4 separate regions of the Homo sapiens genome follow, and regions 1, 2 and 4 are each linked to region 3. The links are contacts of gene promoters, found by promoter capture Hi-C in human tissues and cell types (Jung and others, 2019). All regions are on one chromosome and are shown on one strand. The core of a region is centred on a gene start or on the middle of the fragment in contact, and the rest is flanking DNA. Distances in the headings are between cores, read along the strand shown. Region 1 overlaps KIAA0319L (KIAA0319 like). Region 2 overlaps KIAA0319L (KIAA0319 like). Region 3 holds the start of SMIM12 (small integral membrane protein 12). Region 4 overlaps NCDN (neurochondrin).

Region 1 (7,563 bases), core at 4,201-6,700, 590 kb after region 3:
GCCGAGGCAGGCAGATCACTTGAAGTCAGGAGTTCAAGACCAGCCTGGATAACATGACGAAACCCCATCTCTACTAAAAATATAAAAATCAGCTGGGCGTGGTGGTGCATGCCTGTAATCCCAGCTATTTGGGAGGCTGAGGCAGGAGAATCACTTGAACCCGGGGGGGCGGAGGTTGCAGTGAGCTGAGATTACACCACTGCACTGCAGCCTGGGCAACAGAGCAAGACTCTATCTCAAAATAAATAAATAAATAAATAAATAAATAAATAAGCATTAAACAACAAGAGCTAGAAGTGGGTTTAACAACTATCATAATTTTGAAGTAGTGATAAGTAAAAATGACATCATGTAATGTGATAGGAAATTATTTGTGATTTCTATTGCCTCAAAGCCACAGGTTCTGTTGATACTACTGTAGTTTGTTGCCTACATTGATCATTGAAGTAAACAGTGAGTTTCAGTCAGAGGTTAGTGAAAACAAAGATGTAAATTTTTCCCCACTCAAGCTCACAGCCTTCTGAACACGATCTCAGGGGCCCATGGGCCCCAAGTTAAGAATCCCCAGTGATGAATCAGGACTCTTTCATGGTAATAGTAGTGCAAGAGAATGATTATCTCCATCTTCCCAGAGAAAAGAAGATGAAGGCCAAGGACAGAAAGGACCAATGGGTGAGCTGCAGGCACTAGGTAGGCTCTTGCTCCCAAATTCCCAGAATTACTCACTGACAGTGTTGACTTCCAAGGCTCTGAATATCAAAAAGTCTGCCTTTTGCTTCCGCAGCTCACTCTTGAGCATCGCTGCCACCTCATGGCCTTTGAAGATCTGGTGGGGAGGCTCGTTTTGAACAAAAAATACCATTTTGGTGCTGCAGAGACATGCAACAGTACTAATGAGCTGAAGCGGTCCATACCTGCAGCAACAGCTAACATTTACTAAGTACCTTCTGTTTGTGACAGACACTGTGCTAAGTGTTACATGCATTCTGTTACTACAAGCCAGTGAGAAAGGTGTTATCAGGGTCATCTCCATTTTACAGAGAACAACACTGGGGCTTTGTAAGAGGGGTTAAGTAACTTGCCCAAGGTCACACAGTTGATTATGGCAGAGCCAGATCCCAACCCTGTTATGTCTGACTACAAAGTCTGTTCTTTTTAAAATGCCCTAAGCTGCCCCAGCTAACAAAAGAACCCATTCCTCCAGCAAGAAGACCCATACTCTCCATCTAACTGGAGGATGAGACAAATGGGGATTTGGTATGGCTACATTCCTGCTGTCCACCTTTTTCCAGCTAAGACTGCTGGGTTTGTGACTAGTTTACTTGAAAGACAAACCACAATGCTTTGTTAATGTAAATTGTTGGACAGCATCACAACATAGCCAAAACAATTATGATGACAACAAAAAGATCTTACACTGTAGTATGGCTGCTATGAACTTATATTACTCCATGCCCAGAATCTGTTTGCTGATTGTCAATTCCTGTCCAAGATAGGCCACATGTGAACTCACATCTGGGTAGTACCAAGTCTGTTCTATGCCTTAGCCTTAATTTTTAGTAGCCTGCCCCTTGAGCTCCATGTGAGTTTTACAATTAGAACCTTCTAAATCAGTGAGTCACACTGGTTTACAGGTGTGACCAAGATATTGATCCCCTCATCATGCAGTGTGGCTGGGTGGGACCTGGGCATCCTAGAGGCCCTGGACCAGTTGCTTCCAATACAAGCAGCCTTCTCTGTTTATCCCAAGGTGCCCTATAAATGGTATCATTTTCCAGGCATGCATGACATAAAATCTGAGAAGTACTGCCACAGACTTTCTAAAAGCTTGCTGCACAGTGGGATTAACAATGGGGCATTATCAATTCCAGAAACAAACAAACAAAAAAAAACTTTTGCCATAAAGGATGTGTGGTCCGTTGCCCATTATCTTCTCCCAGTTACCTAATTCATGCTTACAGTTTCAATTTCGGTCTATATATCAATAACCCTCAGATCTTTATCTCCTTTCCCCACATCTCTCCTGAGTGACCAGTCTATATCTGCAAATACTTGTGTGAATATCTACCCCAGAGCTTCAACAGATACCTCAAATCCAACAAGTCTCAAAATCAACTCATAACCATTAATTGCACACTATGTGTGAGGGACTATACAAACATTAACTTATTTAATCCTCATAACAATCCTATAAATAGGTACTAGTATTTTCACAGATAGTAAAACAGGTTCAGAGAGGTGAAGTAACTTTCCCACAGAGCTAACACTAGTAGGGCAGGGCTCAGAAGCTGGGTCTAATATAAGGGCCATGTTCTTTCCTACTGTAAAATACTATTTTCTTCCAATCACATGTTCTTCCTGAATTCCTTAACTAAGTCAATCCAGTACAAGCCAGAAGCTCAGGGAAACCCAGAAGCTTCTCTCTTGCTCATGCCCCCTATGCAGTGCTGGTGAATCTGAGCAACCTGTCAACAGTGCTCTTACCAGCACTCTTGCTAACATCTTTCCACTGCTTGCCAGCCAATTCCCGCCAGCTTGGATCAATCAAGCAGCCATTTGCCCTGTTCCTACTCCCAGGCTGCTGAGTATACTTATCCCTAATCGTGCTATCTCTGACCTAGTGAGCCCTGACTGTAGATTAAATTCACCTGGGGAGCTTTTCCATTCTAGGTACCCAGACCCCACTCCAGACCAACTGAACTATAATCTCTGGGGCTAAGGCTTGGGCAGTGTTATGTTCAGACAACCTCCGCAAGATTCTATTGTGTGGCTGGAGTTGGGAACCACTGCTCTCACCTCATGTTTCCAACTTGGCTGGTCCCCCAGATCTGCCTCCATTTATTACCCATCCCCTATCTCCACCATCTCCTTTTCCTCTCAGTCTATACAAATGCTCACAAACTTCCTATTTTAAAAAGATGTTCATGTTCCACAAGGACCACAATGAAAAAAAATTTTTAAAGATATTCTTTCAATCCTACCTCCCATATTATTTTCAGCACCAACTTCCTCAAAAAGGTGTTATACTGACCATCTCTGTATCCTCAAACCATGAAATCTGTCCTCTGCCTCCAACATCTAAGTAAAATGCTCTCACTATAGTTGCACTGATCTACTAATCACAAACCCATAGGCCTACTTTGTGTTCTCACCACACCTCCATCCCTGTAGCATCTGAATCCTTTGGAAGCACCCCTTTTGCCAGATCACCCCTTAACTTCCAGCAGACTACTCTCATTTGGTTTTCCTCCCACCTGATTGCTGTTTCTTAGTTTCTTTTGCTACCTCTTCTTTCTCTGCCTCCTCCTTAAATAATGATGCCCTTCAGAGTTGTGTCCTTATCCATCTTAGCTCTCTCCTAGTGAGACTCACCCGTTCTCATGGCTTTGGCTCCTGCCTGTATGCAGTAACTCCTATCTCGGGCTCTTCCTTCCACAAGTTCCAGCCTTTACTTGTGGCTATCTGACGGAACATCTCCTGACGCAGCCAGTAAGACACCCCAAATTCAATCATCCATACTGGTTTCGCCTGCCTTCCCAATCTCAGTTAATGACCTGAACCATCTATCCAGACATCCAAACCAAAAGCCTCACATTTGCTATCTCACTCACCTTCATTCGTAAAGGGCCAGGTACTACTGAATTACCACTGAATTTCTTTTAATTTCTTCTCCTCTTCTTCCACTATCTTAATTCAGGTTTTATTACCTTTTCACTGGACTAGTCCAGAAGCTTCCTGAATGGTCTCCCAGCCTTTGGTCTCTCCCTATTTTAGACTAGCTTCCACACTACTGATCTTTCTTTAAAAAAAAAAAAAAAAAAATCAAATTATGGAAATTCCTTGCTTTTAAAAACAAAACAAAAACTTCACACACATAAAACAAACCAACTTGGATCTGCCTACCCAAACTATTAAAACTAAGATCCTCAGCTTGCATATAACTGTTCTCAATCTCCACTGCCAGTCTTGTCTTCTACCACATCCTGGGGCCACTAAGCTTGAACCAAGTGACTTCTTCTGGAAGAAACTGTGTACTTTCATACCACAGGGCCATTGCTCAATGCTGTTGCCCTGTTCTGAATTTCCTCCCCATCCTCCCATGCCTGGTCAATATAAGTTTCCTTTTCCCCTTTTTTTTTCTTTTTTTTTTTTTTCTTGAGACAGTCTCACTCTGTCTTCCAGGCTGGAGTGCAGTGGTGTGATCAGAGCTCACTGCAGCCTCAAACCCCTGGGCTCAAGTAATTCTCCTGCCTCAGCTTCCCAAATAGCTTGGACTACAGGCGAACCACACTGCACCTGGCTAATTTTTAAATCTTCTGTAGAGGTGGGGTCTTGTTATGTTGCCCAGGTTGAAGTTTTCTTTATTCTAGAAAAATCTTTGGATTACTCCTACCCCAACTCTCCTAGAAGAATTCATTGTCCTTGCCACAGTGTTCCACAATGCCGCTTGTTGTACCAAACCCACACCGTACTAATGTTCCATATTTACTTATCTCCTCTACTAGACTGTGGTTGTCAAAATAGTTGACCTCCTACACCCTGGAGCCCTGCTGAAGTGTCTAGTACAGCGCATGTCACCTGCACTAGAAGACAGAAGTCTATTGAAGAAAAGGCAACATGAGTGTTTCTGGTCAGAAAGCCCACCTTTCTCTATCTAACCACACTATTTCTCAGCTCATTCAAGAAGCCCGGGGGCCCCTGGTCTTTCCTTTGCTCCCCCCATTCATTGCCCAGCTACCTCTGCTCCGTGTACGGCTGAATCTTTTGCACAATGATGTCGGAATCCAGCACCCCCAGGAGGACCCCAATCTGGCGGATGAACATCCCCTTCAGCCTCTCAGTTAGCTGACTGACGTTGATATCCAAGATGATCTCCACCAGGTTGTTTTTCCTGGGATCTGGAAAGCATGTGGATCAGTCATGGCTTTAGAAGTAGGAGAGTAAACACAGACCTGCCACTGTGCATTTGCTTTGGCACAGGAGAGAAAGGAGTGAGAACATTCAGATATCCTTCAAATGGAAAGGGACAATAGTGAATTCCTGATCGGGCAATCTGGGGCTGGCTTAGAAAGCTTCTAAAGCACTCCTGCTCTCTATACCAACCTGAGAATTCCCACACATGTGCTGGGGATAAGGCTGAAGCAGTGATGCAATGAGGGGTGGGGAGTAATGACGGGAGTGGGGAAGAGAGAAACACTTAAACATTTGTTTTAAAAGCCTCTGTGCAACTGGCAGTGCTGAGCAATCCAGGCCAAGTGGGGGTTATTAAGCAATCTCTCCTGACTCACATCTGATTTTCAGTGCCTCGCTGTATTTTGTGCACAACAATGGGAGGAAAAGTGTCCATCTCAACAACCTCCTCAATAATGGGAATGCATCCGTCCCTCCAGGTTTAAATACAGTTAACAAAAGAAAATCCAGTCAGCCAAGACACAAGGATTTCCTTAGAGCCACATCACAGCTGCACTATCTTTGTATAACTCTAAAACGGTGAGGCTATCATGTTTTACTTTTGAATATGTCCTAAAGATGTTCTACATTTGGAATTTCAAACTGATTGTTTGGAATGCCTTATTTACATACTTGAATGCACCACTTGCCTGTTCTGATGTATAATTTGCATAATTAGTAGACTATCTGTGATCTGACTTTAAACACCAAAGAGATTTTATAGTGTCTCAGCTACTGTCCTTCCTAGAGGCAGGACAAGGACTGGAAGACCTCCCAAGATCCCTTCCTGTCCAAAACATCCATATATGAGGTTGGCCTAGATAATAAAGAGTAGGTTTAAAGTTAATACCATTTCATCAGAAGCTCAGGAATTTATACAGCTCTATCCCACCTCCATACTCAGTGCCTCCCTATCACCATATTAATCTCAAAGCAAAATAAAAACATGGTTCTATTTAAGAAGAAAATTTTTATTTCTGCAAAGCTGAAAAATGTAAAGAGCACTATTACTTTACCTTCCCTGGATTATCAGACAAGGCCTGAGGCTCAACTTATAAAAATAAATTGTTTTCTGCATCTGGATGCTGATGAGACATCATGACTCAAGCTATTCCCATGCTCAGATTCCCAAGCACTCTGAGCCCTCTCTCATCAGTCACGAGGAGAGGAGAAAGTGCTGGACTACGAGCACAAAGGCCTGGCTCTGACACAACTGCTGTGTGACACTGAGCAAGTCCTGCCCTCTCTGAGTTTGTTTCTCCATCTGAGATGAATAGGGGGAGGTCTGTATTTCTGCATGGGTAGGAGGTATTATTGGAACAGACGGTCTCTATGGATTTTTCAGCTTGGGGTTTCTCGATTATTTTTAAAGCTGGACATGCCATCTGGCTCTGTCCATGCTCGGGGAAGGGGATCTCAGGATAGAGGCCTTGATTGGCTGATTCAGCAATTCTACTCAGCCTCATCACTAAATGAACTCACCAGGTTTCACCTCCACAGTGGTCCGGTCTGTGTCACTCTCACCCTTTGCATCGGTCACTTTCAGGTGAAAAGTGTAGGTTCCCTCAACCAGGTTTGAAAGAAAAAGGATAGGGTGATGGTCAGAGTGATTTAACACCTCCTGTAGGGTTGAACAACATGGCTATGTTACAGAACAAAATGCCATTCCTTTCCTGGAGTCAGTTGCTGCTTTCACCATAACTAGGCCCTTCAGGGCTGAACTGTTTCAACCTTGGGCAGTTCCTGATACGGAACAGCATTGCAGCCTACAACTGCTAGGATCAGGGAAGGGAAACCCATTCTGTGCTATACTAGCTTACAGAATGACCCTAAGCAAGTCACTTCACCTCCCTGGATTTCAGAGAACAATCTGGGTTTGATATAAGGGACCACTTGATTAAAGCATATACTGGAACGCGTGGCTCCTCCTCCTCCCCACTCCTGTGTAGCTCTCCAGCTCCTAGCACACTTACCCCTGCTGCTGGGCTCCCCTCATCTCGAGTCCAGAGGTAGCTGACTATTCCCTTGTCATCTGAGGACTTAGAGCCATCCAGCTCTGCTGTGCTCGTGGGTAGGGTAATCACCACATTCCCAGTTATCTTGGCTATAGGTGGTTTGTTTATTTCTAATCAAAAAGAAATCATTGACATAATGTGACATTCTGGAAAAGAAGAAATGTTTCTTCATGATGCTTATGGGGAAATTAAAACATCAAGAGTACCTTAACTGGAGAACCTTTTTAAGTGCCTGTCCCTGCCACCAACCAACAGTGTAGATGAAAGCTACCAGCGCTGCAGTCCTGAGGTTCCAGTCCTACCCAGAGAAATGTTCTCCTAACACTGTACAACAGAGGGGACGAGTGTGCTTTCCTCTCATATTCTCCCAGCAGCCTTCCCAAATGGAATCCATTTCTCTGCTTTGGAGGTATGTGATGATCAGAAATAACGGCCCAAACTGGCTTAAAACCTTGGAGTTTAGGTTTCACCTAGCTGATCTTGCAAATTCTCCTTCAAAATATCTTAAAATGTTATTCTCTGAATATCTTTTTGGACCCCTTCCTTGGAACTTCACAAGAGAAAACAAAGAGCTACCTCTCTTATTCGGAGCCCCACG
Region 2 (6,587 bases), core at 2,488-4,987, 680 kb after region 3:
GTGACATAAGCCTTCACCATGAAAATTTCTGAACAAAGCAACAGTGGAGAATAGCTTCCCAGTTCACCTAGGCAAAGAGCCATGCATCACTGATGACATCTAGATCCATTCACCTTCCCTTGTCCTGAGTAATGATGAAAAAGGAAAAACAGAAAAAGATACCTCAAAGTTCTGGTCACCTAGGTGAAAACAGGGAAACCACTCTATCACAATTCTAATGCCTTTAACTTCTACCTAAAACAACTTAATAAATCAAAAGTTTGCATTAATTGGATACAGGTGCTATTCCATTTCAAAAGACCCATCTGCCAAGGTTTAGCCCAAAGGCATTTTTCACAGCCAAGTATTAATCAAATCACTGGTGTAGCTGAAAATAGCTCTCCTACCATAAAGTCACCTGTTCAGAAACAATCCAGTCATCAAGGGCTTTATAATATTTAAAGGCAGATTGAAGGCAAATGATTAAGCTATGCACTTAAAAAAAAAAAAACAACTGTAACTAGGGGGTTACACTGCTGCATATGATGTACTCAGAATCTCCTGCTTCGCTTTTTCTCCCACCACCTTATGACTAAAAGACTCTGGAGAATGCTGTCAGCAAGGAGAGCACGCCTCCAAGCCACAGCTTGAAGGAGCCCACACCTCTCTATGTAATACTGTCTTTGTACTTCAAAAAGCACAGGTATTAAATTATAACAGATAAACTTTTGCCTATACATAAAAGTGGTTCTAAAAAGAAAGAATTGTTTTTCTAAAAAGAAAAGCACCTAGATATGATGTCGTGAATCTACCAATTCCCTGTGTAGCCCACTTGTAGATGGTATTGTTAAGAATCTGCAGTTGATTGCCATTTCTCATTGCAGTTATTACCGGCTGATAAATTATTTGCATTCAGCACAATCATACCAACCTCCCTTGGAAACCCACACAAAGAACCCTGAATCAGAGCACTATTTTGTTTTTTGGGAAGGTTTTTCCTTTCCTTTCCTTTTTTTTTTTTTTTTTCTGGCTTGTTTTGTTGTTTTTAAAGAGAAGGTCATTTAGAGGGCCGCAGCAGAAATATGTAAATTAAACAGAATTGTAGGCTTGGGAGGAAGTAAGGAAATAATATAGCTAGCCATGAAGTGTTATTTCAGCAGATATGGCCAATAGAGGAAAAGTTTATATCAATTTACCCATTGAAACTCTCTCTTTTTGGAGCATTATGTAAGCGCCATTAAAAAAAAAAAAAAAAAAAAAACTGCAGTGGGCTGAACTGGGACATGTGAGGACTCAATACAACCAAGCTTCAGATACTTAAATATCTCGAACCACTTTTTGCTTATAGCAAATAAAATGCAGAGCTACAGATGCTTTCTCATCTGTGTGTAAATGAAAGCAAAACTGTGTGAGTAGTTAGTATTCTTAGAATTTTTGAGAGCCAGTTTATTTAAATTAAATCAAAGCCAATCTGTATCTGTACAGAAATAATTTCTTAGGGCTCTTATTCTCTAGACTTACAGAGCTGTACAAACTCTTCCCTCTATCCCTCCCTCTAAGATAAAAAAAGTGAAAAGAGCTCTGTGGGTTAAAAGCCACTTCAAATGAATCTGGGAGGAGGAGGTTCAAAGGGATTAGAACATCCCATGTCTTACCAGCCTGCTATAAAACAGGGTTCAGCTATTCTCTGCCCCATTCTTTGTGTTCCCATAGCACATCTCGGAATTGATCATGCTTCTTTATGTTTCTACATCTCTCTCTGCCTCCATAGTGTGACCTCTCTAATGGCAGGAACTTGGTTTTATTTAGCCTGATATATTATTTGTTGACCTAAAATGCGTGTATCTATAGTATATATATAAAATACCTAGATATTAATTATCATTAATAATGTGAATTAAGCATCCTAGAGAAGGTACAAAAATGCAGTTAGGCCAGGCACAGTGGCTCACGCCTATAATTCCAGCACTTTGGGAGGCCGAGGCTGGCGGATTGCCTGAGGTTAGGAATTCAAAACCACCCTGGCCAATACAGTGAAACCCCATCTCTACTATAAATACAAAAATCAGCCAGGCATGGTGGCACGTACCTATAGTCCCAGCTACTCGGGAGGCTGAGGCAGGAGAATTGCTTGCAGCTGGGAGGTGGAGACTGCAGTGAGCTGAGATCATGCCACTGCACTCCAGCCTGGGCAACAGAGTGAAACTCTGTCTCAAAAAAAAAAAAAAAAAAAAAAAAAATGCAGTTAGCTTATTTTAAGGCACTGACTGAATGTGAGATAACACATATAAAGAGCCAGAGACCACAAATATTAGGAGAATGTAATCTAAGTCAACACCATAATGTGGCACTGACATTCGGGTAATTTCATATTGTTTGGTTTATTTATGGCAATCATGTGGCTTTTAATAGACTTCATTTTTCTGACGTGTTTTTACTTGTGTTTTTTTCTTATACCTCCATTTTCAAGTTAATTGTAAGTCACATTCTACTGACAGAAATGAAAATATGGGCAAATTGGTCAACACTCCTGACTGCCAAATTATCTAGTATAGACTATCTCTAACTGCACGGAAACTGGCGTTTCCTTATCCTCATCTGTATAATGGCAACATTTCTCTGCTGCTTCAAAAAATGGTATTAATTCTAGGCAGGGAAATAAGAACACCCAAATGTTCTTCAGTGTCTCTCTCTTTCTTTGACACACACACACTACCCACAGGGACACAGCAAAGCCCTGGAAACATATCGTACACATACGGCCTTTACTCTCCACCACTTCCTCTCCACTGACAGAGGCAGCCATGCTGCCAAGGTAGCAACCCCCACATGAAATACAAAAGAGTGGAGGCGAAACAGCTCAATCAAAACAGCTTGGGAACGGAAAGGAGGGTATGCTTGTCAGAGAAAGTCTCCAGGGATAGGCCAGAAAACTTTTGTTTCTGCCTTGAACATCCTGAGCAAATAACCCTGTTCCAGGTCTGCAGACCTCAGGTCAGGGGCCAACTCCTCCCTTTAACTTTTCACAGAAGGCGTAATAGGAAAACTCGCTGTTATTTGAAAAGTCCATTGTGAGAAATGTCAGAGTGCAGCTTATAAGCATACCCTGGGGAGCACAGCTGAGAGCAATTTTGAAAACCAAGCAGTTAGAAACTGATGAAGTAGAATGCACAGGTAGAAGACAGCTTGGCACTGCTTCAGCATATGGGGCTGCTTGCTTCAGGCCAGATGCCACAGACTGACCCAGCAGGATGCAGATTACTCAACTTTCTGAGATGGAAGCTGGCTCTTCAGCTTTTCTCTACAAGGCTGCTTCATTTATTCTGATTAAGATTCATTCACTGTAGCCACCCCACTTCCATAAGCCTCCAGCTGACTCTGGTTGCCCTCAGTTAAGGACAATAAACATTGAGCTGTATCAAAAACAAACAAACAAAAAACAGAGGAGCCATTTCTTAACAGGCAGGATGGCAGTCCTCTTGAAATGGTGAACTTGAATCTGAAATTAAGGCTACAGAAGTGAAACTGAATCAATGTTACCCCCCACTCCATCTCCCAGGTCTGGTAATATTAGTCATTCCCCTTATTACCTAAAAGTGAAAGAATTCATAAGCATACATTTATTTCAAACTCAAATGTGCTGCTGGATTAGAATCAAAACATAATGTTAAGCCAGTTGGAAGAAAGAGAGCATTCCTAAAAATCCTGTCATCTGCTGAGGGAGTTTAAAAAGGGGAACTGAAGTGAGATGCACTGGGCACCCATCTTTAGGGCAGAGTCTGCAGTGGGTAGAGTTCCAGATAGGCCTTGGCTGGCATTCCTCCCTGCTTCTGTTTCCCTTTGGACAGCGTCTGTGATGGCTAACTCACCATTCAGGGACATTCATAATTCTTTCTCTTCTTAGGGCATTTTATAGTTTCCTTTTGTGATTGGCCAGGGAAGTTCAAGATTTATATAATTGGTGCTTGCTTCATGCTAAGCATTGGAATGGTTCACCTAAGATCCTGAGTAACAAACCTGATGCCAAAAGGGCAGGAGCACCCTAATGCAGAAGACTTTCAAGTGCTGATGGGCTGGGTGTATCTAACGCCCATGAAATCACCACAGGAACACACTTCCAACTTGGGGGCAAAGGCTGCAGCTATAGCACTCTTTCCACATTTCCAAATAACCACTCTAACTGCTTATTCAGGAAATGTGGATTATTAAAGGTGAGAGAGACAGAGCACTGGATAGAAAGGAAAACTGGAGATATACCATCTTGTGGACAGGAACTTCACTTACATAATTCTTGGCAGAAGGTTATTCTATTAAGACCAGCTTGAGACATCAAATTGTCTAGTCTCCTACATTCCCAGGATTCTGCAAAGAAGACTAGGTCTCTATTGTCATGGCATTACCTTGGGACCCTAGGGAAGCCTCAAACTCCTTGAAGGGAATCTTGATGTCAGCAATGCCATCCCTCTCAAAGGGAATTTCTGTTCCCTAAGAATGGCAAAGGTATTAACAGACTGCAAGCTTCATGAGGGCAGAAACCGTATCTGTCTTGCTCACCAATGTATTAATTTTCCCTTTTTTTTTTCTTGAGACAGTCTCACTCTGTGGCCCGGGCTGGAGTGCAACAGCGTGATCATGGCTCACTGAAGCCTCGACTTCCTGGGCTCGAGCGATCCTCTTACCTCAGTCTCTCAAGTAGCTGGGACCACAGATGCACACTATCAAGCACAGCTAACTTTTTATTATTTTTTTGTTACAGGGTCTCACTATGTTGTCCAGACTGGTCTCAAACTTCTGGCCTCAAACGATCCACCTGCCTCGGCCTCCCAAACTGCTGGGATTACAAGCATGAGCCACTGCGCCTGGTCTTACCACTGCATTTCTAATGCCTAGGATAGCAGGCACCTGATAAATATGTTTTGAAGGAAGGAAGCACAGGACAAACTCTGCAAGCTACTTCTTTTTTTTTTTTTTCCTTTTTTTTTTTTTTTTTTGAGATGGAATCTAACTCTGTCACGCAGGCTGGAGTGCAATGGTGCAATCTCAGCTCACCGCAACCTCTCCCTCCTGGGTTCAAGTGATTCTTCTGCCTCAGCCTCCTGAGTAGCTGGGATAACAGACATGCACCACCACACCTGGCTAATTTTTGTATTTTTAGTAGAGACGGGGTTTCACCATGTTGGCCAGGCTGGTCTTGAATTCCTGACCTCAGGTGATCCACCCACCGCAGCCTCCCAAAGTGCTGGGATTATAGGTGTGAGCCACCGCGCCCAGCCTACAAACTACTTCTAACCCAAAACCCAAAAGTGTTGTTGAATCAGCCCCAGTCAAAACACTGTCCTGACCAAAGACAGAGCCAACCTGGCCTACCACAAGGCCTTGCCAAGCATGGGCACATATCAGTTTTGGGGGAAGTGAACTAGGGCAGAGAGCAAGGTGGAGTCGTGGCAGCAGAACAGAGTCCTCTTCCAGAGGAAATGTTTCCTTAGCTGGGGGAAGAAACAAGTGGCCCATCATGCTCCTCAGTGGCATATTACAATCACGGAAAATGCACAATACAATTCATTCTGTCATGGGCTTCAATTAGTCTCAGACCTGTAAAGCTATATGAATGGAGGCCTACTTTCCCCAATAATACAGAAGGCCCAGCTGCCTACCTCATACTTAATAATGTGCAGACAAAGCTCCCACTGGACAGAGGTTTAAGAAGCTAGCAGAGAACTCAACCCTCCTGCCTGCTGGGTCATCTGGCGGTTAGACAAGAATTTAACCATATTAAACTTTTACGTTATTGCTAACAATTGCTGAGTTTTATTTATGTACCTGGGAGTAGGCTAAGCCCTTTGCATGAATATTTTATTTAATACTCACAATCCTGTTAAGAGGTACTGTCATTTCCATTTTATAGATGAAGAACCTGATGGAAAGTATGTTTCAGTAACAGCACCCAGTACATTATAAAACCATGACTGAGACTTGTCTGACACCCAAGTCCATGCTCCACGCCCTTCGCCACTCTGTCTCCTATCTCTTGCTCAGCTGATGAAAAGGCAGGTAGTCAAGACCAATTCTTACAACCTCTCTCTGGAACTTATCCAGTACTATCTGGAGTCAAAAGTGGCTACAGGACCTTAACCATATGGGCTTTTCTTAGGAAAGCTGTTGGAAGAAGGATCAGAAAGAAAGTTCAAAAGGTAGGTCCTCAAATCAAGAGCTATCCATTCTGACCCAAACCCTTCACTACTGTTCATCTGAAAATAGGTGTGCACAGGGAAGAGCTGAGGCTTTAAAAAAATAAAAAAGTGTCCAAACACTAACCACACACATAGTTCTTGACTATGTTCCTGCCAGTTTCACACAATGCCTTGAATTAGAAGCTGTTCCAATTACTGAGATTTTAATAAAATCTCCAAAATAAGCCAAAAGGCTATGCTTCGGCCCTGCAATTGTTGTTTGTTTTTATAAACTCCTCTGCTGTTTTATTATTTCCTCCCTTAAGGAATTCCTGAGGAGAATAAATTTAAGATAGTTTTTAAATTGAGTTGGATTTACTGCCCAATTATGCTAATTTTCTCATCCCTCTTCATTTTGTCACACAAATGGGGAAGTAA
Region 3 (6,829 bases), core at 25-2,524:
AGAAGAGCTTTCCTTTTCCCAAACTCTGAGATTGTACTCAGGGATTTATGAAATTCAGAGACATAGTAATAGTTAAAAGAGGCACCTCTGAAGAATCCCAAACCTAATACTTCTCCATTTTACTTCCACCTTTAAAGCAAGTCCTCTGTATAAGTAAATGCTTCCCTAAATAGCAACTGTCCGTTCAGATTTCCAAACCTGTCTTAAAACATATCGCGCATGAGTTCACAACTATCTCTCACATGCAGCATAAAGTCTCTCGCTACCGTCCTGCTCACATTCTAATCATTCCCAAATAAGTCAATTCATTCCTTTATTCGACACTTATAACCACTTACTCTGTGTCAGGCACGATGCTGGCTTACCCTGTCTGCGTTTCTCAAGACACTTTAAGCTCCAAAAGGCTAAGAACCGTGTCTGTCTGGCCCAATTATGCCCTATCCATCCAGGCACCTCTCCTACCCTGCCTGGCAGAGTGCCCAAAAAAGGTCTGCTGAACGAATGAATGACAGCCCAAACTCCCTAGTGTAAAATCACAACATCCTCCACCCACTCTCCCCCAAAAGGTGGCAGGAGCATAACAGATGCCTTTGCTGATTACAAAAACCTAAAGACTCCATCATAGTCGTCCCCAGGCAGGGTATCACAATGAAAGAGGCAAAAGTGTCTGAAAAACACTGTGACGCATATTTCCAGCCCGGCATGGAGGACGTCTGCCAAAAGCATCCGGTAAAGGTCAACTGGGCTGCTGGGAAACCTGCCCCAGTGCGAGGGCCCGGAGGCCCAACGAGGCCAGAAGCCGTAGTCCCAAATTCAAGAACTACTAACAAGGACACAGGAGGCCTGAGAAGGCGGAAGAATTAGCCCTGACAGTCACTAGAGCGCAGTCCAGGAATGGGAGCGCAAGTAAGGCGAAGGTCCATCCAAATGGCTACCCTTCTCCCTTCTGTGAGTCTCCCGGTCCCCTGTCCCTAGCCCACCTCATTCATGGCCTCATCAACGTCCGTCCTCATTGAGGTGCCGAGAAGCCCTGTCTGCGGAGGGCTACCTGGGCTCCCAGACTTGGCACCAGAACACCCGCCAGAGAGGGGAGCTGGCAGATCTGGCCGGGACCGGGGTGGACCCTAGCGATCACTCCTCCCGTAACTCAGAGGTTACTGGCCTGGGCTGACCCGACCTGCTCGCCGGGACCGCGCGCTCACCTGCGGCCCAGCCCACACTCCCCAGTGCGGCCCCCGCTCTCCGCCCGCTCGCCGGGAGCACGGAAGTCGCCGCACCCAGCGGCCCGCGGGACCTTGCCCTGTGACCCTGCCCACTGGCCGCCGGCTCTCTCGGAGCGCAGGGATTGGCTGAACTTCAGCCAAAGGACGGAAGGAAGCTAGGCGTCCGCAACTGGGCCCCACTGCGCTGAAATGGACGTCGCGCCCTCTGTTGGCCGGGAGGTTTCTCAGTGATGTCGCCACGTGTTTTCTGCGTGGAAAAAGTGAAAGATCATCCAGTCATTTTTTTCAACTGATGTTTATTAGGCGTCTTCTAAGACCTAGGTCTGGGCACGCAAAAACAAAAGACATGATCCCTGACCTCAAGAAGCTCTTCTTAGAAGAGTATATTTTAGTGCTTTAAGACCTCTTGGGATCCGGGCTAGCTTTCTAGTGACCTTGGGAACATTATTAACCTGTCTGAGCCTCCCTTCCCCTTCTGTGTAGAGGTAATAACACCCATTTCGCAAGGATGGTGTGAGGGTTGGAAGAGATAATATTTGTAAAGTACTGTGGCAGGCACACAGCCAGCAGGGAAATAAATGTGGCTATTGTTAGTGTAAAAATAATTCAAATATAGTAAAACCTAAGTCTTACATGACCTCTTGGGTACAAGTATTCACTTCCTCCTCTGTGTCCCCACTGTACCCTATACAGACATCAATTTTATCATATACAGAAAAGTCCCAAAGCTCAAGCTTGTTAATGCTCCCACAAGGCCCTTCCCACCCTCATCCCACTAATCTCAGCCTGCATATTTATTTTGCTCGCACATACTAAACCCGGCAGACCACACTGTTTCACACCTCAGTGCCTTATTGATGCTTTTTCATCTACCTTCCCACCTTTTTTGTTGTTGTTGTTCAATTTCACTCTTGTTGCCTGGGCTGGAGTGCAATGGCGTGATCTCGGCTCACCGCAACCTCCGCCTCCCAGGTTCAAGTGATTCCCCTGCCTCAGCCTCCTGAGTAGCTGGGATCACAGGCATGCACCACCACGCCCGGCTAATTTTGTATTTTTAATAGAGAAGGGGTTTCTCCATGTTGGGGAAGCTGGTCTCGAACTCCCGACCTCAGGTGATCTGCCCGCATCGGCCTCCCAAAGTGCTGGGATTACAGGCGTGAGCCACTGCGCCTGGCCGCTTTTTTTTTTTTTTTTAACAGGACTCTCGCTCTGTTGCCCAGGCTAGAGTGCAGTGGCACAATCATAGCTCACTGCAGCCTCAACCTCCTGGGCTCAAGTGATCCTCCCACTTCAGCCTTCCGAGTAGCTGGGACCACAGATGCACACCACCAGGCCTGGCTAATTTTTGTACTTTTTGTAGAGACTGGGTTTCACCATGTTGCTAGGGCTGGTCTCGAACTCCTGAGCTCAAGCAATCCGCCCGCCTCAGCCTCCCAAAGTGCTGGGATTACAGGCATGAGCCACCGTGCCTGGCCATGTAGTGCCCTTCCCACCTTTCTTTACTATGCCAGATTGTGCTCTGGCACAATTTTCAAGCTTAAGGGTCACCTCCAGAGGAAGCCTCATACATAGACTGCTTATCACATTAGACACCCTTCCTCTATTATCTCAAACAGCTCAAAGCTAAGCTCTGGCAGTGAAGATGGAGAAAAGGGAACAGTATTGTAGGGGCCAAGGTTCACTGAAAATCAACTGACAAAAGGCAGATTAATAGGAGAAAAGACATACAAAATTTTATTTTAACGTGCATAGCACGGGGCGGGGAGGCGAGGGGGTGGGAAGGGAAGGGTCACAGGAGAATGATTACCCAATAACCCAATGGGGTACAGAAGCGTATACACTCTTTTTCATAGGGGAAGGGGAGAGATGGAGAATATAGACAATTCTTCTGAGGGCAGCAAGTGATTCTTAGGGCGAAAAAATGGACAGAAATTAACTTGTAAATGATTCTCTTTAGAATTTGAATGAGCCCGAGAAACAGGCATCATCTTGTGAAAAATCCATCCAGGCGTAGTTGCCTTCCTCAGTCTTCTTTTCTGAGCTAGATGAGATTTCGGAGAGGGGAGGAAGGCAATTTTGTTTCTTTTGGAAAGACGTTTTCTCGATCAGATTAGGAAATTCTAGAGAGAGTGCCTCCCTATACTTGGGAGAGAAGGTTAGAGGGACCTTGATTCTGAGGCAGCTTCGAAGGCCTCTCAGCATGTCAAAGCGCCAGTCTTTGGGGTATCGCTTTCTGAGCCCCAACAGTACAAATAAATATTTAGGAGACCGTTGTTAGCAGAACCTGCTCACTAACTGAATATGTGGAGAGGAGAAGGGAACAGAACTGTCCAGAGTAACTGGCATTTGGTCAGCCAATCATGTGCTAGGCAATGGGGATGCAAAAATGACTGGGACCAACCTGCCTCCAGAGTTCTCTGACTAAAGAAACAGATGGGTCTACAAAATGTCAATAGAATGTAAGAAATGTGATGACAGAAGTATACACACGCAGCACAGAGGAGGATCTTCAGCCCAGCCAGGAAGATTCAGGGAAGGCTCCCTAGAGGAACCAAGCCTTGAGCTGAGTCTTGAGTCATGGCTAGCAGTTCCCTCAAGCAGAATTGCTGAGGGGCTCAGGAGCATAGACTGAGAAATCAGATAGCCATGGGTTCAAATCCTGACTCTTGTCTGCTTATCTCAGAAAAGCTATTTACACTCTTTGTTTTTAAAAAAAGACAATAATAGTACCCACTCCTAGGGTTGCTATGAGTATTAAATCACCTAAATGTGTATAAAGTGCTTGGCATAGTAGTTTGCACCTTCTCAGTGCTCAGTAAATGGTTATTGACATGTTAAGTATTTCCCAACTGTATTGCTCCTTCTGTAATGTCCTATGTCCATTCGTGGCATTACTCATTCATTAAGCCAGAAATCTGAGTGACACCTTCAAGGCGTCCCATCTTTACATTATTCTCCAGATCCAGCTTACTGCACTTATGCCTCCTAAATGTCTCTCAAAGTCAACATCATTATCTCTTACCTGGACCACTTTAGCAGCTCCCTGAATGGTCTCCCTGCTGTCTTGTTGCCCCATCCAGTCCATTTCCTTTCTTTTGGCCGTAGTTTCATCTTTCAAATAAAACTATGAGGTTTCCATCTTAGCCTCCCACCCCCAACTCTATGGGTCCCTTCTGGCCGTATCTCCTCCACGCCCTCCACAGCCACCATAACCTGTCACCCTCTCCAGCCTATGCTTTCATTCCCAACACACATGTGCTTCCATGGCTTTGCCCAGGTTGGTCCCTTGGCCAGAAATGAATTTCTCCCTTCTCTTCCTTGACTACAAAATGCTAATTCATCCTGCAAGATCCAACTCACAAGGCAGAAGGCTTTCCCAGACTGCCTGTGCTATGGTTGTACCCTCCAAAACTTACACTGAAATTTGTCATTGTATTAAGAGGTGGGACCTTTAAGAGGTTATTAGGCCATGAGGGCTGCACTCTCATGGGTGGATTGACACCCTTATAAAAGGGCAAGTTCAACTCCCTCTTGCCCTCTCTTGCCCTCTCACCTGCCATGGGATGACACAGCAAGAAGGCCCTCACAAGTTGCCAGCCCCTTGACACTGAATTCCCCAGCACCCAGAACTGTGAGCCAATAAATACCTGTTCATTATAAGTTATCCAGTCTGTGGTATTGTTATAGCAGCACAAAATGGACTAAAACACCCTGGTTGCTAGAGGCTCTCTCCTCTCAATCCCTTGGCCCCTCTGGGAGAACAGGTTTCCCTTTGCACCATAACTTTCTGTTTATATGCTGGCCATGGCCAGACTGTAAGCAACTCAAGCAAAAGGACTGGACCTAATCTTTCACTATCTATGGGGCTCAGCATAACTACCTAGGCCACAAGAACCAAAGGAGACTCATCCACACCAGACATGGAAAACTCTATGAATAAAGTCATAGACCCATAAAATGCTGTATAAATGTAAAGGTTAAACTCAGACTCAGCCACTTCCTGGCTTCATGGTTTGAGGTAAGCTGTTTAAACCTCTCCAAGCCCATTTCCTCATCTGTAAATGGGGGTGAAAACAATATCTGTTTTACAGCATTGCTCTGAGTTCAAACCTCACCCATGCCCCCAATTTTAGAGATGATAAAACAACCTCAGAGAGGTAAACTGACCCAGCCCTTCTACTGGAGACCTTTGGACAGTCATCCAATTTAAGTCTTCCCAAAGCTGGCTGCTCAGAATCTTGTGAAGCACTTGTTAAAACCTTATTCGAGGGCAGAGTCTATTCACTAAGTCTTGGACCAGGCCCAGGAGTCTGTATGGGATCACCTCCAAACGGACTGCTTTTGGGAATTCAGATCACATTAGAGTTCTCCTCACCTTCCAGGCTCATGTGTGTACGTGGACCATCTCTTGCTTTTCCAAAGTTGTCTACCAAACCAGTCTATAAAACGTTCATGCCACTCCTCTGTTCAAAACCCTTCTATGGCTCCCTACAGCCCACAAGACCCAGGCCACCTGCCTCAATGAGACCCAAACACTGATATAATCAAGTCTCTGTGCTCCCAATGTCTCTTCCTCTTCCAAGCCTTTGCACAGCTGTTCCCTGATCTTGGAACATTCTTCCCAGCCCTGGCCCTCCTTCAGCAGCTAATCTCTAATCATCTTTCTGGCACTTACTCCTGTATTTTAACTGCTTGCTTATTTGTCTGTTTTTCCCATATGACCATAAGTTCCATTAAGGGTAGAAACTACATCTTGTTCAGGGCTATTCCTGTGGCGCCCAAAAGTGATAAATGTCTGCTGGATAAATGAATGAGAAGAATTAGCTGACCCAGTGTGGCCCAGAAAAGCAGCCAATCCTGAAGGCTTTTCCTCCTGCCTGGAGGTGACACACCAACCCAAAGGACTGCTCAAGGAGTGGAAAGGGGCTTTCTGGGTGGAGACTGCCATCAGCCCTCTCTGGTCTAAGAAGCCTGCAAAGCTAAAAGCTCATGATTTGGCATTAGACCTGGGTCCACCACATTTAGTCCTGTGACCTCAGACAGGTCTTGTAACCTGCCCTGAGCTTTGGCTTTCTCTTCTATTGTAAGGACCAGCCACATTCATGTAAAGCACTCACCCCTTGCCTGACCCACACTGACCACTCAATAAAGCCATCGATACTAGGTTCTGGTTGCCATTTAGCTTCCCAGGAGAGCTCTGTTCTTTGTACTTCCTCTTCCCCCACCCCAGCCTCCACCAAGGTGGCCACCCATAGGAGGCATCAGAAAATGCGGCAGGACTGAAGATTTTCTGCTGCTGATCAGGAATGACTGGAGCAGAAGGAACATTGTGCCCCTAGGGGAAGGGAAACCAATTATTTGTCAATACCTAACAATAACCACACTCCCGGTTTATTGAGCACATGCTGCGTGCCCGGCGAGCTCCGGACTTCCCTCTCTGGGGGAACCCTGCGGACTGGGAGGCAGAACGGGATACACCGAAATAGGAAGAACGGAGAGCTTGGCACCCTCCCCCTCTTCACCCCACCTGGGCCCCTCCAGGAGGGTCCAGGCCCTTACTGTGGGCATCAGGGGGCCGAATCTCCTTTCCACCAGCTGGCCCATCC
Region 4 (7,211 bases), core at 3,317-5,816, 710 kb after region 3:
CCTCCATCCTTCCCCCCTTTCTTTTCCAGGCGTGACGCCTGCTTCACATCTCTAATGAACACCCTCATGACGTCGCTACCAGCACTAGTGCAGCAACAGGGAAGGCTGCTTCTGGCTGCTAATGTGGCCACCCTGGGGCTCCTCATGGCCCGGCTCCTTAGCACCTCTCCAGGTAAGAACTGGGGATCCAGTCCTGATGGGTGAGGACAGAAGACCTGGGTGGACCTCCTGTGTTTGGGGCAAAAGTCACCATTTTTAGAAGATGGTTTTGCAGCATTTTCTAAGCAAGAGGAAATCTTTGCAGTGTATCTCCATCCCCTACCCCCACCGTTCTTCCCAAAATGCTAACATTCTCTTTCTTCTGAAGACTTTTAAGGCAAAGTCTGGTGGGTGTTAAGTACAGACCTGCTCACAGGCACAGGCATAGGCACCTGGAATCCCTGGCAGCCAGAGGAATCTGAATCCAGTGTTTTCAAGGTGGAGCCGCCCCCACCCAGGCCTTGAGTCAGAAACCTGACTTCCTTCCATTGATGTTTTTCTCTGCTCTGCTCGGTACCTCACCCCCATCAGTGACAGCCTTCAGCACTTGGTGTCCCTCTATGCACACCTTCTCCCTAGCTCTGCCTCACTCTGGCTGTTTGCAGGGGGAGGGACGTCCCCTCCAGCCCCTGGCAGCCCTCCGTGTCTCCCTCTTTGGCTGTGGGTGTCTGCTTGGGTCCCTCTGTCCCTGCCTGTTCCCTGTGCCCCATCTGTCAGGTTGGAGGAGCTGAGCAGATGCCTGGGAACAGGGCGTAACATGCCCGTACCTTCCACTGCCTCTGTGTTCCTTTTGAGGGGTTCCCAGCAGGGTACCCCGTCATGGGAAGGGGTGCACATCCCTGTACACCAGGAGCCCACTCTGCACTCTCAGTCCCAGGCTGCATCTCTGCAGCCCCCAATTTCATGGTCCCAGTTCTGGCTCACCCTCAAATACCACCAGGTTAGGTTGACAGCTTCCTGGAGAGCACCTGCAGTGTGAGGGTCACCCCTTGAACAGCCAGTAAGCAAAGCAGGGTCACTTGCTTATGTTCCTCTCTGGCGCCCTCTTCTGGCCCAAGGATCAAATGGTGCAACTCCCTTAACCTGTGTCTGAGCTCTGTGTCCAGAACCCTGAGGGGTTCTCTCTCCCATCTGACCCTGTGACTCACCCCCACCTCCAGTGCCGGTAGAGGTCTTGGTGGTTGAGTGTACCAAGATGATCACATTTAATTCTCACAACAAATTTCTAAGATGAGCACTATTGGCCCATTTTACAAGTAAAGAAACAGACCCAGAAAAGTTAATTACCCAAGGTCACACAGTGAGCATCTAAGGCAGGGTTTCAACGCAGGCAGTCTGATTCCAGGCTGTGCCCTGGCTCCTGCATGTGTCTACACAGAGGACTAGGGAAGGGTCTGACACAGCAGCTGGCCTGTCCGATTCATGCCCCACTCCTTCCGTTACCTTGCAGCTCTTCAGGGAACACCAGCATCCCGAGGGTTCTTCGCAGCTGCCATCCTCTTCCTATCACAGTCCCACGTGGCGCGGGCCACCCCGGGCTCAGACCAGGCAGTGCTAGCCCTGTCCCCTGAGTATGAGGGCATCTGGGCCGACCTGCAGGAGCTCTGGTTCCTGGGCATGCAGGCCTTCACCGGCTGTGTGCCTCTGCTGCCCTGGCTGGCCCCCGCTGCCCTGCGCTCCCGCTGGCCGCAGGAGCTGCTCCAGCTGCTAGGCAGTGTCAGCCCCAACTCTGTCAAGCCCGAGATGGTGGCCGCCTATCAGGGTGTCCTGGTGGAGCTGGCGCGGGCCAACCGGCTGTGCCGGGAGGCCATGAGGCTGCAGGCGGGCGAGGAGACGGCCAGCCACTACCGCATGGCTGCCTTGGAGCAGTGCCTGTCAGAGCCCTGAGGGGTGTCCACCGGGGACAGACCCAGGGGCGGGCAGAGAGGGAAGGAGGGAGGAGGCATCTTCCCTGAAGCCCCCAATCTGGCCCCCCCCTCCCCAGACTTCCTCCCCAAAACACCCCAGCTTTCTGGCTTTTCTGAGGGCAAGGGCATGGTGCCCACCCCTCAAGTGTAAGGAACTGCGTTCCGCCCCTCAGGCCCCCATGGGGGCAGGGATCGGCTTGGAAATCAACGTGGTTGTCCCCGCCAGGCCGGGGAAGGTTGGAGCAGCCCCCAGGGAGGGGGGCACTAGGTGTCATTGTGCCCGATGTCTGGCTCCCCTGCAGGAGGGAGGCTCCAGGGTAAGACAGGGCTGGCAGGAGCAGACTGCCTCAGCCCATGTGCCCTGCCGGCCAGGGCGTGGGCTCCCCTCGGCTGTGGTGCCTCCTCTGGCCCCCCAGGTCCACGTCCTTTAAATTGGCCCTTTGGCTCTTGCCCTTGGCTCCCTTGGGCAGACAGCAGGCTTAGGCCATTGATATCGCAGTTCTTCCTATCAGCTTCAGTGACCCAGGGTCTGAACTGCCTCCATCCTAGGGCAACCTGGGGCAGACAGGCCTGGTGGGGGGTGGGGAAACCTCCTTCCACCTGAGCTTGCTTGAAGGGACCCAGAGTCTTTGGGCCCAGATCTTTAAACCTTTGTGTCGTGTTGCAGCAGAGTGACGATGGGGGTTGGGGGGTTATTTATTTTGCCTGTCCTTATCCCTGCTTGGACACCTGAGCATCTGATTCCTGTCCCCCTGGTGCCATCTGGCCTGGCTGGAGCCAGGAACAGGAGGGACACTTCCCCAGAATCCGCATGTTTCCCCAGTGATTACACTCCACTGCCACCGTGGTGCCTGGCTTTAACTCCCACCCCTGCTATGACTCCTCTCTGCAGAGACGCGACTGGCGGCTCCAGCAGGGACTACCTTTCTTATAAACCCAGGGGGACCACACACACACACACACACACACACACACACACACACACACACACACACACTCTTGATCCCTTGCTTCCCTCCCCCAGTGCGTTCTGTGATCGCCAAGTTCAAAGCTGTGCACATGTGGACACTCAATAAATGTTCATTGGTGACGAGAAGCCTCCTGCGTGGTCTGCCCTGCACCTGCTCTCTCCCTTCCAGGCTCCATCAGTTCACAGCTACCAGGTGCTGAACACATGCCCTGCTAAACACATCATGAGACCTCATTCAGCCCTTCCAAGAATCCTCTGAAGGGTTCTGATTTTACAGACAAAGCAACTTTGGCATGGATAAGTGATTGGCTCAAGGTGTTGCCGCTAGTCAGTGCCAGAGCCAGGACTCCACACAGGCCATCCGACTCCCCAGCCCACATCTTTCACTTGTACAGCAGATTGCCAAACTCATGTTGATGTGGCCAGGCCTTGTGGGGGCTCTGGTGCTCTCAAGTACAGATGAAACACTGCACCCCCGCCCCCATGTCACTGGGTTGCTGCCAAGTGGCCCTGCCATATCCTCCCATTTTTAAAGAAGTCAGGAATCCTAATTTGTATGTGAAACCCAACTTTTGAATGTCAGTAACTATCTTTAATTAAATAACTACTGATCCAACAAAACATGCAGTCCAAATGTAGCTTTCAGGTTACCAGCTGTTGATCCTGTATGCCAAATGAGAAGCCAGAGGGCCTGCAAGCTTCAGCAGATGAGCCAAGTACCCACTATGGGTACTTCACCAGTCCTGAGCCAAAGCTGTGAGGTTGGAGCCAGACAGGCCCCAGACCCATACCCTCCGCAACCTCCTCCACCTAGGCCCTCAAACCTATAAGCACGTGCTGAGCATAGCCTATGTGCCCACCTGTGGTTGGCTATGCATAGACAGGAATATTTATTTATTGACTGGTTGTACTGAAAGCCATCTTCTTAGCATGGATTCTCTGGGGTAAATATGAAAAGACATAGAGGCTAGGTGTGGTGGCTAACGCCTGTAATCCCAATACTTTGGGAGTCTGAGGTGGGAGGATCACTTGAGCCCAGGAATTCAAGATCAGCCTGGGCAACACAGTGAGACTCCATCTCTACAAAAGAAAAACAATTAGCCGGGCATGGTGCCTCGTGCCTGTAGTCCCTGCTACTCCCGAGACTGAGGCGAGAGGTTCTCTTGAGCCCAGGGGTTTGAGGTTATAGTGAGCTATGATCACACCACTGCATTCCAGCCTGGAAGACAGGGTGAGATCCTGTCTCAAAAAAACAAAAACAAAAACAAAAAAACTGTAAGCAGTGGCTTCTATGTAGGTCCAAACACAGTGTGGCTGGAGCATGCGAGCCCCTCAGACTGGCCAAACGATTGCAGGAAAACTTACAGCAACTATGTGCTCTGAGACTTCAGGGTGAGGAGGGGCTTGCCAGGCAGACACGAAAAGGAACAGCAAGGTCTGAAGGCATGCAAGCTTGAGAACTACGAGTAGTTTCGCATTCCATGGTGTATAGAGTGTGAAGTGTGGAGTGGTGGAAGATGAGGTTGAACCAGCAGGCATGGACCAGATCCTACTGTGCTGTGCTCAGAAGCTTAAACGTGGAATCATGCTGAGAGATCAAATTGCAGTTTTGTTTTTTTTAGAAGCAGGGTCTCACTCTGTTGCCCAGCCTGATCTCGAAACTCATGGCCTCAAGTAATCCTTTTGCCTCAGCCTCCCAAAGTGCTGGGATTGTAGGCATGAGCCACCATCCCCGGCTAGACTGCAGATTTTTTAGCAGATTGAATGTGATCCCGTTTGCATTTTGGGAAGATGAGGCACTGCAAGAGGAATGGCTGAGCCAGGGAGCTCAGAGAGGAGATGCTAAGTCTGAACTAAGCCAGTGGCAATGAGGCTGGAGAAGATACAGGTAGGAGTTAATAGGACTTGGTGATTAACTGGAAGTGAAGAGGGGTAAAGAGAAGGGGAGTAGAACCAAGGATGACTCCCAGATTCCTGATCTGGGAGACTGAGTGGATAATGGGGCATTCACTGTCACTGGGAACACTGGGACAGAGACAGATTTGTGCATACCATACACAACTCAACTTGGTAAATGGCGAATTTGTGCTGCTCATGGTATATCCAAGGGGTAGTTGCTTTCTATGGTCTGGAGCTCAAGAAAAGTCTGGGCAAGTGACAGATTTGGGAGCTGTCAGTATAGAGGGTCCCTAAAGTCATGGGAGGGACTGAGATCATCTGGGGAAGTGAAAAGAGAAGAGAAAGGTCCCAAATAAAGTGACAGCCACCCATGGTCCCTGCTGTCAGGGTGCTCTCCCTCCCATAGTGGAGAAGTCAAACCCTGCAAAGCTTCCTAATACAAGGCAGACAGAGTTCTGTGCTTAAATGAGGTATGGTCAGAGAGTTCTGGCTTGCTCTTGGTATTTCAGCGGAGTGGGGAAAAGGGAGATCTGAGCTGCAGTTGTGAGATCTAACCACGAGATGGCGCCTTGGCATCTCCTTGTGCCAGATTTCCCCACCCTGCAAACACTCAGCCTGGCCTGGAGCAGGAGGTGATCAAAGGCTGGGAGGATGAGGGTGGCTGTGTCAACAATAAATGAGGCAGATCAGAGTTTTTTCTTAACATAAAATCCAAATGCAAGCTCACTTTTTGAAAAGAGAAGGAGCCTTGGAGAAAAGCAGTATGCCAAGTGTGCCAAATGGGAGTCCACGTATGTTTGAGCATGCAACTCTATGTCAATATATGTCCCATGTTCCTATGTGTACTTGTGTTTCCCATGAATGTCTCTGTGCAAGTTGTGTGCCCCATGTTCCCAAGGCTGTCTGCATGTGTACCCCACTGCACCCCAGGCCTCCACATGTGTGCATGTGTCCCAGGGAGCAGACAACCAGAAATCTCCACCTCCATGCCTCAGAGAGTGAGGAGTCCCTTGGCACTGAAAGAAGTAGTCCTGAGTCTGAAATCATGGGACTCTGATGTTTTAGGGAGACTCAAAGCAGCAGCAGACCATGGAGAACATCCCTCTCCCCAGTAGCCATAATCAAAATCACTCACTTATCAGATGATCTCTTCAGATTATACCTGGGTTCTATGTGTAGATACCCAGGATCATGTTCACATAGAGCCTTCCTAAAGGATCCCTTAATAGGCCAGTGGATTCATAACACCATCCATTGATGTGTTTATCATTTACAGTATTTAATAAGCATTCATTGAGTTCCTGCCATGCCCCAAGCACAGCGCTAGATACATTTTCTGTTTCTCCTTTAATCTTGTGAAGCAGTTCCTGAAAGAGGAAAAGTAAGTTAGTCACAACTGCAGAGTCTGGAATGCTCATTAGAATGTTTAAACTTTTTTTCCCCCGAAGATGGGTCATGGGGAGCCCTAGGAAAGTTTTCAGTAGGGAGGTAACATGGTCCAGTCACTCTTGTGGAAGTTGGAAATTGATCAGAAGAGATATGAATAAAGTCAGGAGACCAGTTAGAGAATTGTTGCAATGGCCTAGATAGTGGTTCTTAAACTTTAATGTGCCTCTGAGTCACCTTAAGGACTTATTAATAACACAGGTTGCTGGGCTCCACCCCCAGAGTTATTGACTCAGAAGGTCATGAGTGGGATCCAAGAATTGGGACTTCTAGCAAGCTCCCAGATATTGTTGGTGATGCTGGTCCAGGAACCACTCTTTGGCTGTGTTGCCCAGGCTGGTCTCAAACTCCTGGGCTCAAGGGACCACACTTTGAGAGCCACTGATCTATGAGTAAGAGTAAGGTAGTTTAAGGTGCTGAGACAGGGTGCCATGTGCCCTCTGGGATACCTGCCTCAATTCTCCACCACATACCTTCTGTGGGTGGATGTTTAAGGGTTAGAAATGGCAACACTCCATAAGGATTAGCTTGTGGGGGTTAAGGAAAGGACCTACGCTCTTCTGGGATGACTAGCAAGTTTTGAACTTGAAAAAGGGTGGTGTCATTTATGAAACTACAGAGCAAAGGAGAAGCAGGTTGGGGTTGGTGCTGGGGATAGAGGAGATGTTGAGTTCAGTGTTGGACTTGGAAAATTTCAGACAGCTGCAATGAGATGTCTGGAGAAAATACGCAGCTGGCAGCTGTGTCTATGGGTCTGGATCTCTCACTAGTGATTCAGGCCAGAGATAACACAGTTGGGAGATAACAGTAGACAGGTAGTCATTAAAGACTTGGGCCGGGCGTGGTGACTCATGCCTGTAATCCCAGCACTTTGGGAGGCTGAGGCGAGTGTTCACTTGAAGTCAGGAGTTCGAGATCAGCCTGGCTGACATGATGAAACCCTGTCTCTA

Evidence for each region. The method cuts DNA at HindIII sites, captures the fragments that hold promoters and counts their contacts. A contact is called where the count stands out against the background at its distance.
Region 1: a contact is called between a fragment that was not itself captured here and the fragment with the promoter of SMIM12 in region 3, in 1 of the 25 tissues and cell types used here (dorsolateral prefrontal cortex).
Region 2: a contact is called between a fragment that was not itself captured here and the fragment with the promoter of SMIM12 in region 3, in 1 of the 25 tissues and cell types used here (lymphoblastoid cells).
Region 4: a fragment that was not itself captured here is called in contact with the fragment with the promoter of SMIM12 in region 3 in 1 of the 25 tissues and cell types used here (lymphoblastoid cells).

Annotation. Positions count from the first base shown.
Region 1 is chr1:35,443,435-35,450,997 of GRCh38, forward strand. KIAA0319L (KIAA0319 like) reads right to left here. Exons shown (of 21, transcript NM_024874.5): 14 at 6,924-7,075; 15 at 6,433-6,571; 16 at 4,739-4,898; 17 at 727-869. Among named protein-coding and RNA genes, the nearest start is that of ZMYM4-AS1, 81 kb to the left of the region's middle. The HindIII fragment of the contact is 6,659 bases long and covers 2,122-7,563 here.
Region 2 is chr1:35,536,398-35,542,984 of GRCh38, forward strand. The region is part of intron 2 of KIAA0319L (KIAA0319 like); the gene reads right to left. Among named protein-coding and RNA genes, the nearest start is that of KIAA0319L, 18 kb to the right of the region's middle. RefSeq lists enhancers at 3,552-3,601, 3,652-3,741. The HindIII fragment of the contact is 7,143 bases long and covers 167-6,587 here.
Region 3 is chr1:34,858,475-34,865,303 of GRCh38, forward strand. It overlaps SMIM12 (small integral membrane protein 12), which reads right to left and starts at 1,275. Exons shown (of 2, transcript NM_138428.6): 1 at 1,203-1,275. RefSeq lists a silencer at 1,097-1,226. The HindIII fragment of the contact is 9,605 bases long and covers 1-2,358 here.
Region 4 is chr1:35,563,738-35,570,948 of GRCh38, forward strand. It overlaps NCDN (neurochondrin), which reads left to right. Exons shown (of 7, transcript NM_014284.3): 6 at 30-172; 7 at 1,490-3,042. The coding sequence ends at 1,926. TFAP2E-AS1 (TFAP2E antisense RNA 1) reads right to left here. Exons shown (of 3, transcript NR_183387.1): 3 at 6,074-6,182. Among named protein-coding and RNA genes, the nearest start is that of TFAP2E, 6.0 kb to the right of the region's middle. RefSeq lists a silencer at 6,480-6,581. The HindIII fragment of the contact is 6,197 bases long and covers 1,469-7,211 here.